Regions from separate parts of the Homo sapiens genome. Here region 2 is linked to region 1. The links are contacts of gene promoters, found by promoter capture Hi-C in human tissues and cell types (Jung and others, 2019). All regions are on one chromosome and are shown on one strand. Each heading gives the region's core, a stretch centred on a gene start or on the middle of the fragment in contact. The rest is flanking DNA. Distances are from core to core; before and after follow the strand shown. Region 1 holds the start of ANTXR1 (ANTXR cell adhesion molecule 1). Region 2 overlaps ANTXR1 (ANTXR cell adhesion molecule 1).

Region 1 (5,320 bases), core at 2,655-5,154:
AAATTGTTTTTTACTCAAATTTTTTTGGGGTAGTCTGGGTTACCTGGAACCTTTTCTAAAATGTTAAGAATGCAGACAAATGGCACTTAGTGCCCAGTGAGTTCTTGACAGATTATTAGGACAGTAAACTTTGTGTTTGACAACCGGGGAAAAGGGCTCGCTCACATGTGTTTGAAAGTAGAGGGCAAGTAAGAGAGAGCGAGTTACTAAGAGGCTGATATTGTAGATAGGCAGGGCATATTTAATAATTACTGTCTCAAGGAAGGAAGCCTAGTAAATTCAGGTAGAACAGTGATCAGAGTGCAGGACTAAAGCCTTGAGACAATCAGTCTAGTCAGACAAACTCTCCAATCTTTTGGAAGGCAGGGACCTTGAAATTCCTGGTACCTTTGAATATCTTGGGATTCTTCCTTGTGGCAAATAAAACATTTGAACATTTACAAGTTACCCCTTATCCCCTTATCTTCTTGAAAGAGAGTTTTCTGCTTCCTGGTAACCCAGCACAGTCTAACATTGTTCGCATTACTTTACTGGAATGCTCCTTTGTGACACAGTGACACTTGTGCCAAATCACTGGAGTTTTCTTAGGGCTTATCCTCCTGACTTCCACAGCATATGGCTCTGTTGACTACTTCTTCCTGCAAGAAACTCTTTCCTGCCTAGGCTTCCAGGTTACCCTTCAAATGCTCCCACGTGCATGGTTAATTTTCTCCTGTACTTCTCCAAGTCCAGAAATATCCATCCACAGGCTGAACATCACCATGTATATCGTTCTTCCACTGCCTTGAATTAAAGAAGCAGAAGAGTCCCTTCCAAACCTCATGTATCTATCTTTATAGGCCTTGAAAAGGCTGATCAACCTCTTCCAGAACACTGGAGGCCTTGGAAGGCATTAGGAACCAGGACACTCCCAATCAAGTCAGAACACTGAGAATTACCTCAAGAGGATGGTAACATTTGTGTAGGAAGATCTTGACATTTATATGTCTCTGAGTTGTAAAATCATTCTGGAAAATGCTAGCAGGAACCCACCAAGACTCTCCCCAAGCCGCCTTCTAGCCTGCAGTGACTGACCCACCTCTCCCATTTCTCTACAAGCACTAATTATGAGGCCACTACAGCCTAACAAACAAAGGCAAAAGTTGTTGCCAATTTTTGACACCTGACAACATCCCCCGCTGAGCGAACATGCTGGGATCACAGAAGAGGCTTCATTTACCACTGTTATAGACTATGGACATCTTTGTCGTATTTAAACTCTCCCTGCGAATAACCATATCTCTGCAGCTCAACTTCAAGCTCACTTCTCAAGAATGTTTGGAGAACACCTCCCTACAGTGAGTGAGGCTGGCACAAAGCCCTCTAGGTAGAAGAGGCAGCCTGGAATGTATTTCCTCAGGCTGGAGGGAGAGCAGGGTAGAGGCATTTTAAGATCTAGAGATGGACTTCTTTCTAGAATCCTGGAAGAGAGGCAGAGGCACTGGGACACTCAAATATCTGAATTCCTCTCACTGCCTGTCTGCCCTGGAAAATACCATCTTTGTCCAGAGGAGCCTCTTGATCTTTCTCCCCTTCCCCATAACCTTGTTTCCCACAGAATATCCTCTCTCCTCCCACCCCTGGAAGAACTATGCCCTCATCTATCTTGGATAATGGTGTCTGTAACTTTGAAGAGCTCTATCAGGACACCCCCTGCTTCCTTCCGGGGTAATTTCCTAAACTATTTTGCCTGTAAAGCTCTCAACACATTCCTCTGTCACCTAAACTCTTAACAACTTGAGACGGCCCTGGGGGCATGACGGTGAGAGAAGATATTCTTAATGCTTCCCTGATTCATCTCACCCCTCCACCCGCTTTCCACATTCAAGCTCTTTCCTATTCCTTGCCAATCCCATAAACACTCTCTCCATCACATTGTCATATCCCTTTTCTTCTCTTACCAGCTCCCACCAGTGTTTCTGCTTTCCCTTACCCATCTGATTTCTATAGATTTCCTCACTGTCTTTCAAGTCATCGAGCTGCAGTGGGGTCAGCATGGGTTTTCAATCCTTTGAGGAGAAAGAAGACATGGAAGAGGAAGACTTGGATGGTTAGGGTATTTTAATCTCCCTCCAATTATTTTTTTCCTGAGAGCAATAATTCCCAAAGTATGGGTTTAATACATTTTATCTATGAAACAACAGTTTCATGGTCAAGTAAGTCTGGGAAACACAGTTCAGCAATTTTTTTCCTACAGAAATTCTCAAGGCTTTAATATGATACTAGGCATATATTAGTTATCTTTTATTATATTTAAAATTGCCCCCAAACTTAGAGACTTAAAACACTAATAAAAATTCGCTTATTTCTGTGGATCAGGAATCAGGGAATGGCTTAGCTGGGTAGTTCTTGTTTGGGATCTCTCATGAGGTTGCAGTCAAGATGTCAGACAGGGCTGCAGTCAGCTGAAGGCTTCACAGGATGTCAGGAACCTATGTCCAAGATGGGTCACTCACAATGTTGGCAAAGTGGTGTTGGCTGCCAGCAGGGGTCTCAGTTCCTTACCACACGGACCCCTCCTTGGGGCTGCTTGTGTGTTCTCACGACATGGCAGTGGGCTCTCCTACAGTGAGTGATCCAAGAGAGAAGGGAAAAACCACAACATCTCTCATGGCCTATCCTCAGAAGCCACACACCATCTTCTTAATTACTCACAGGTCAGTCTCACCCAAGGTGGAAGGGGTGTGAATTCCAGGAGGTGAGAAACACTGGGTTCATTTTGGAGGCAGGTCAGTGCTACGCATGACAAATCTTCAAGGCTGATTTGACAACATGATTATTGGTTAGTGGAGCATTCCAAGACACTAAGATTCCATGGTACACATGTTGGGGGAAACCACCATGGACTGTCACATTGGGGTATAAGGGTCTGGGAGGCACACAAGTGGAGGGGAATATGTGTGTCTGGAGGAAGAATCCTGGGAAAACAGTACATGCATATGCACTGAGGGCTCCCAGAGCGGAAGACAATAGGAAGCTAGAACTGGGGTACCACTCGGAACTGGGGCTCAGAGGCTGATTCTCCAATTTAGAGAGGCTAGCACGGAACTTCCCTGCCAATTCCAAACTGCTTGGAGCGTCTCTACTCTTGTAAGCTGTTTACTTCCTCCATCCTAAATCAAAGATAGAGAGAAAATGTCAAAGTTCACAGGCTGAAAAGAAGAACTATTATCATAGAATCCCTAAAAGATGGAGATGGTGGCCATCTAGAAGGCTCAGCTGTTCCATGCCGGGAGCAGCCCTAAGTACCACACTCTGTGGGGTTGTTTGTGATGGTTTCAGACCGGACCCCAACAGTCTCTTTTATGGTCCAGACAGACTAAGACCATGTAAGGTCACTCTGATGACTCATACCACAAAGGTCCCGTTTTTCCCCTACTTCATCTGCACAATGGTTTGTTTGCAAAGGTCCTAGCCTGGGGAGCCGGAGTCACCGTGGTTGGAGGAAACAAATTCTCATCCAATGTTTAGTGACCTTATCAAAAGATGCAGGATAGGGAAGGAAAAGAAGGAATAGAAGGACTACAGAGAATGGAGAGGCGGTCACGGAAAAAGAAAGGGAAAGTGCGTGGGAAGAAGGAAGGAGTAAGAAAACACGCACAGCTCACATGAGAATGGTAAGGACAAGGAAATTTATACGCGAAGCCTGGAAGCGCCCCCGCCCCCGACGCACTCCCGCGGGTCCCACGCGTGCTTTCGCCGCCTTTGTCCACAAGGTGGCAGCCTTTGAACTTTCTTCCCCGTAAGAACGCGAAAGGGGGGCAGAGAGGAAGGAGAGAAGGCAAAGCACTGCCCCCACCAAGAACAATTTGAAACCCCCCCCCCCCCCCATCATATTTAAAATCTGGGACAAAGAACCGTCGGGACGGAACTCCTTCCATTGCAAAAGCTCGGCGCGGCCTCGGGAGCTGCCCGGCGGCCCCGGACCGAGGCAGCCCTCCCCTTTAAAAGAAGCGGAGGACAGGATTGGGATCCTTGAAACCCGAAACCCAGAAACAGCATCGGAGCGGAAACCAGAGGGGAAACCTTGAACTCCTCCAGACAATTGCTTCCGGGGAGTTGCGAGGGAGCGAGGGGGAATAAAGGACCCGCGAGGAAGGGCCCGCGGATGGCGCGTCCCTGAGGGTCGTGGCGAGTTCGCGGAGCGTGGGAAGGAGCGGACCCTGCTCTCCCCGGGCTGCGGGCCATGGCCACGGCGGAGCGGAGAGCCCTCGGCATCGGCTTCCAGTGGCTCTCTTTGGCCACTCTGGTGCTCATCTGCGCCGGGCAAGGGGGACGCAGGGAGGATGGGGGTCCAGCCTGCTACGGCGGATTTGACCTGTACTTCATTTTGGACAAGTAAGTGCCGCGAGTTGTCCCCCCCACCCCAGGCTAAGCGGGCGAAAACGCTTTCGCCCCGGGCCGGGCTCGTTGGCAGGGTCGCCTGGGGACAGGAGCGCATCTCCAGGGCCACAGAGGGACCGCGCGGCAGGCGGCGGCGGAGTGCTGCGCCTTTGTTGGGGCGCGCTCCTCCCAGCCTCGGCTCCAGAGCCCGCAGCCGAGGCGACGCCGCTTGCTCGGAAGGGGACAGACTTCTTTTCTGTCTTGCTTTCTGTGTCCCAGGAGCAGGCAAGGGGCTTGGAGGATGCTATTGTCTTGCTGAGTTTCTGTGACTCCCTCCCGTGTTGGTGGGAAAGGCTTGCTTACCAAAGGCAGAACTTGCAGGCACAGGCACTCCTAAAGTTAGAGGCTTGGGCATTTTAAAGCCAATCGTCGCATTTTGTTTTTGTTTTTGTTTTTTTGTTTTGTTTTGAAACGCTGTCCCACGGAAGGCATTATCTTTGCTCCTAATCATGTAATGCATACTTCTCACCGGGCACTGAGTGAGAATGAAAGGCAGGGTTTCTTAACCTTGGCACTTCTGAGATTGAAACCTGGTAATTCTTTGTGGTGGGGGCTGTCCTGCGCGTTGTAGGATGTTTAGCAGCATCCTTGGCCTCTGCCCACTGGATGCCAGTAACATCCCCCGCCCCCCACTCCTTCCTTATTAGTGGTGACAACTAAAAATGCCTCCAGACATTGCCAAATGTCCCTCCCCTTCGACTTGAGTACCCCAGATGTAGTGAATTCAAGCTCTTGGCCATTTGACTGGTGGGCTACCAGGGAGGTGCAGGAGCCCTGGTTTCCTTGCAAAAAGTGGTTAGGCTTTAGGATTTGCTCAAGGGAGAGCTGAATTCTGACCAATGAAGCACTTCCCAAATCCGCATAAGTTTGCCAAGCCACAGTCACCCAAGGAAGCTTC
Region 2 (5,052 bases), core at 1,090-3,589, 130 kb after region 1:
AACCCGGGAGGCGGAGATTGCAATGAGCCAAGATTGCACCATTGCACTCCAGCCGAGGCGACAACAGCAAGACTCCATCTCAAAAAAAAAAGAAAAAAAAAAAAAGAAAGAAAAAAGAAAAAAAAATTGGTAGAGGGGGGAAGGAGTTGTCAGTGGGAAAGAGAAATGGGAGGAGGAGGAAGAGGAGAGATTTAATAGTTTGGGGAAAAGGACCAAAAAGCAGAGAAAATCTGAGAGGATCTCCTTTCTACCAATGCTAAAATAATTGTCAACTCTTTAAATAGTCCAACATTGGCAAAATCAGTGAGCTAAGTTATCTGAGAATGGGAGATGACCCACCAGGATCATATTGTCCTAGTTGGCAGCTTACAGTCATACTGCACTAAATTACAAGTCACCCCAGAGTCATTACGTGTATTTTCTAATCAGGATAGTATTTGGGACTGACAGGATTTATATTGTTTGCATTCCCAGAAGGCAGTCAAACTCCTCCCTCTGTTCCCTACAGAATGACAAGGTCCCATGAGGGTATATAAACACCTTCCCTTTTGCAAAGCAGCCATCTTCTCACCTATACATTAAGGCACCAAGGAAATGCGAAAGGCAGGGAGTTAATTTATTTCTCCTCGAAAGAAGAGTCAGCCACAAACGATACATAACTAACATTCCTTTGCCATTACTGTGGCTACTGGAACAGACGTTAGTTTAGTCAGTGCCCAAAGCAGTGGGCTTCATGTTTTGTTTCATTTTTTAAAAAAATAAAAAGCACTTGAATAAGTGACAACTGAAATATTACTGAGTTTCTTTTCAACACAACCCAGCATCAGGAAAACTGTTTCATTTGCAGGCTGAGGAAATATGAAAGAGCAATTTTATTTTACCTGCATTGCCCAAATTTATGGACTTAGAATACTTTATAGGTATCTATAAAGCTCAAGATTCTTGAGATTGTATATAAAAGGTGCAAACTCAGCCAAAGTAAATATCTACAAAATGCTCCTTATGATGGAGCTTGACCTGGCAGCCCCAGTTAGCTCCTACCTACTGGCCTTAAAATTTGTGAATGTACTGATCCCTAACAGATAAAAATGTTGAATGGCAATTTTGTATTTCATACATCCTCACTCTAAATAAAATTATGTCCATTTCTACTCTGTGCCTTTGATCACATTTCATTTTCCTTCTGGAATGCCCTCTCTTCTTTCACCTATCCAATTTCACTGTGGCCTTAAGGCCTAGCCCAGTGCTTTCTGGACCTGCCCCAGGATGACTCAGTGGCCTCTGCAAGCCTCCTAACTCCCTCTGCTCTGAGCTCAGGCACTGCACATTGCAGCACCTTTGAGAGTTTAACTGCATTTCACCAGTACGGCTCTCCAGGCAAGCCCTGAGAATCAGTCCTGACTTTGTAATTGGACTCTGACAACCTCTTTCAGGGTTAGAAGTTGATGTCTATCTTTCTATGCCTCCTACTGTTGAGCATGCATTAGAAACTCAATGGGAAATAAGTTCTTGGTTTATTGACACCCTATTACACAGTTTAATGACATTGCTTTAAGGAATTGATCATCATGGTTACCTCTGGTTGATCATGGATGATAGATTCATGGTTGATCATAGATGATAGATGCTCGGGTAGAGCATCTATCTTTTTGAGGCACCACCCAAATTCACCTTTCCAAGTTCGTAATCTAAAGCAACAGCCCATGGTATATTGTAGGTGGTGTTTACTTACCAATAATAGGTAACGGTGATGCCAACTAATACATGAGGGATGATCAATCAGACCAATTGAGCATATACATTAAATAAATGGCTACATTAACGGTAAGTAAACGAATCACTATATTTAGTAAAACAAAAAATGAAAATGAGACACCAGCCTTTCTCTTCCAGTGTCATAATATTTGAGCACTACTAAGTACCTTCTCTGTAATCCTATTTCAACACCCCACTTCCAAGAACTAAAGTACTCCAAGTACTAACAAGCTACATCTTGTCTGGATTATTCTCTGAAAACTGGTTTTGATTAACAAGCTCCATGCATTTTATGGAGAGAAAGGGAAGTGCTGAATGAATCCAAAATTTACTTTAATCACCTTCACCATCGTAAGTAACATGAAATGTCATGACTGGGTCAGGGTGACAAGAGTACCACAAGAGTACTTATCACCTTCTGTGATAAGAGCCTCAAAGCTTGAGTTTGTGGGAGTATGTCATCAATCTTCCCCTTAACTGCATATTAATGATGGCTTATCTCAGTCCTTCTGGTATTATTCATATAAGGCATAAAGTAATAAGATTTATAGCAAACTAGGATTTATACATCCATATGATTTCTGCTCCTTCAACGGATTTGCTTTGGAAAACCATATGCTTTCTCCAACAACGCTGTCACTATTCCAAATATATTCTGCACTCTTGCTTTGAAATGGTCATAACTTTAAAGCCACAATATTTGAACATCCTCAGTAGGGGATTAGGGGAATATCATCATCATTTGATTTCTAAAACCCCAAAAGCTGTAGGAACCAGTTCTGGTGAATGATGGATTATCAAGCTCAGAACTTTCATGAATGCTTTCATGAAAAGCAAAGCATGACTAAGAGATTATAAGATTTTCTTTTGGGGGCCTATAAACTGACTTTAGAAAGAGTCCCAAGGGAGGTGTTTCAGAATTGCTTTGGGCAATGGCTGTATCACTGGAGGTAGTCTCCAATCTCCAAAGCCACTAGTTTGGAGATAATTAGATTCATTTGGATGTGGGAATTCAGTTATGTTCACTACATGAACAGCCTCATTGCTTTATAGCCATGCTTTTTAGAAAGAGTTCCACAAAGGTTTAGGTACCTAATACTTTTTCTATACTGCCCCACTTTGGGTTAAGGAATCTACTATCTTCAGTGTCTTATCAATTTAATTGCCATCTCTAGCCCAAATTACCTCTCAGGTGGCCAGAATGAATCACAGTGTTTCATTATGTTACCCTCATTTATGGTTGATCAGCTTTGATCAAGGATATTAAATTTACCATTGGAAACTCCACTTGGGTTTCCCTTTTCTTGACACATGGATGGCAATCTTAAGGGCCTGAATTTCTCAAATGTGTAATCTGGGACCACCCACTAACACCATAGCTCTAGTCAGAGTTTGTACAGGGTTGTTCAAGAAATCAACTTCATTTACTTTGGCCAAGCATGGGCACATCACCAGGAACTTGGCTTGGACGTAGAAGGAAAGGGAGGATGGAAAGGGAAGTGCCATTTTTTGAAGGCTGGCCATGTGCCAGGATCTCTGCATGCCTTGTCTCATGTCATCACAGAACCAATCTGGGAAGCAGGAATTATCTCAATTTCACATACATAAAGAAAAAGAAGTCTTACATTCACCTGTCCATCATTGGAAAGATTTACAATGATTCTGAAGGACAGGCAGTGGAGTTTTAGGTTTCAGGGGCAAGAGCAGTTTTCAAAAGTCTTTGAGTCCAGTGTGCGCAAGTCAACAAGCAGTACCTGGTGTGCAGGAGCACTCGTGAGTGAGTCTGTCTCGGGTCTCGACAATTAGCAATTGTGTGACAGTCATTCTGTTTCCTTCTGCCTGACCCTGGGAGACATACCAGTAATGGATGTGCAAAAGCAGGTCTGTTTTATGTCTTAATATAATTTAAGATTAACTGTATTGAAAAAATGCTGAAGAATGAATGTGTCAAAATGGGTTAACTGTGTACATTGACTTTCATGTCATCATCCATCTGTCATGAATGAGTGATACTTTGCAATGGGCTGGTGTATGACAGTGAGGACCTTAGGGCATGAAGGCTTTTTGCCTGGTCCCAGCAGCATCTGCCCCATGAAGTTTGTTTTCTCTCACTGCCTCCAGGCCCCACTGATACCCCCAAATAGATGCTGGGTTATGAGAACCAGTGAAGTCCCCCATGTCGTCAGTCTTAAAAATAATTTTACAAGTCCACATATTTGTCCCATTCTTGGAGTAGTTTTAGTGTATGTCTTTAAATTAACTACTAACAGTATAAATAACTTGACATCATAAAAAGAAAAGGAAGGCTTAAAGAGGTTGTGCAACTTACTCAAAGCCCACATATTAGTAAGTAGAAGTTTAGGATTTGGATCATCTTTTCCTGCCTCCAAAGCCCAAGCTCTTTGCCATGAGGTTGATGCAGCCATTAACAGGAATGAGACCATGGAGGGGAATTGAGCAGCCACAGGAAACGTAGGCTCCAACGCCATTCCTGCTACCCACTAACTATAGGCGGCATCAGCCTGCTAAATCCTTATTCCCCTCATTCTATTAAACACTTGAAGGGCATTTAGTGGCAATTTGTGTTTGAAACACTGTACTATGTCTCACAGGTACAAATATGAGTAAAGCAGATATGTGTCTTCTAGGGGCTTCTAATTCAGTGGCAGAGACAAGAACATAATAATATAATTTCTATAAAATAAAGTAGATAAGACAGAGCTATGATTATGATAAAATAAGAGCACAAATGCAGAGTTCAGTGGTGGTATTTACTGGTCTCTGTTTCCCACTCAATGACAAGGGCCATGATTGGCAAAACCGTGTCCATTTTATGCTCTTGTTCTCCAGTACTTGGAGAGGGCCTAGCACATGGTAGGTGTTCAATAAATATGTTAGGTATGAATAAATCAGGTGGTACCTGAGCAAAGACTTGAAAGATGAAAAACAGCTAGCCACGCAATGATAGTTAGAAAGAGTGTCTCAGGGAGAAGAAGACCGTGACAGAAGAGCGAGGTATGTATGGGGAGCTAATGCCATTTAGTTCTGTCAAAGCACAAAGTGTGAGGAGGGAGGGGGAGGTGCTGGAGAGATAAGAGAGGGCTTGTATGGGCTAAAGACTCAAAGCCTTGTACCTAGCAGTCCACGAATAGATTCCAGGGATTTCATGGACCCCCTGAAATGGTAATAAAAAACGTGTGAGCCTGTGCATAAATGTGAATGTATACTTTCATTAGGAAAGGGATGTATCACTTCCATAAAATTCTCAAATGTTAAGAACTCTGTGGGCAATGAAGA

Evidence for each region. The method cuts DNA at HindIII sites, captures the fragments that hold promoters and counts their contacts. A contact is called where the count stands out against the background at its distance.
Region 2: a contact is called between a fragment that was not itself captured here and the fragment with the promoter of ANTXR1 in region 1, in 2 of the 25 tissues and cell types used here (H1 embryonic stem cells and aorta).

What each region holds. Positions count from the first base shown.
Region 1 is chr2:69,009,275-69,014,594 of GRCh38, forward strand. It overlaps ANTXR1 (ANTXR cell adhesion molecule 1), which reads left to right and starts at 3,905. Exons shown (of 18, transcript NM_032208.3): 1 at 3,905-4,377. The coding sequence starts at 4,226. The HindIII fragment of the contact is 10,036 bases long and covers 1-5,320 here.
Region 2 is chr2:69,138,004-69,143,055 of GRCh38, forward strand. All of the region lies in intron 12 of ANTXR1 (ANTXR cell adhesion molecule 1), which reads left to right. Among named protein-coding and RNA genes, the nearest start is that of MIR3126, 37 kb to the left of the region's middle. The HindIII fragment of the contact is 8,828 bases long and covers 1-5,052 here.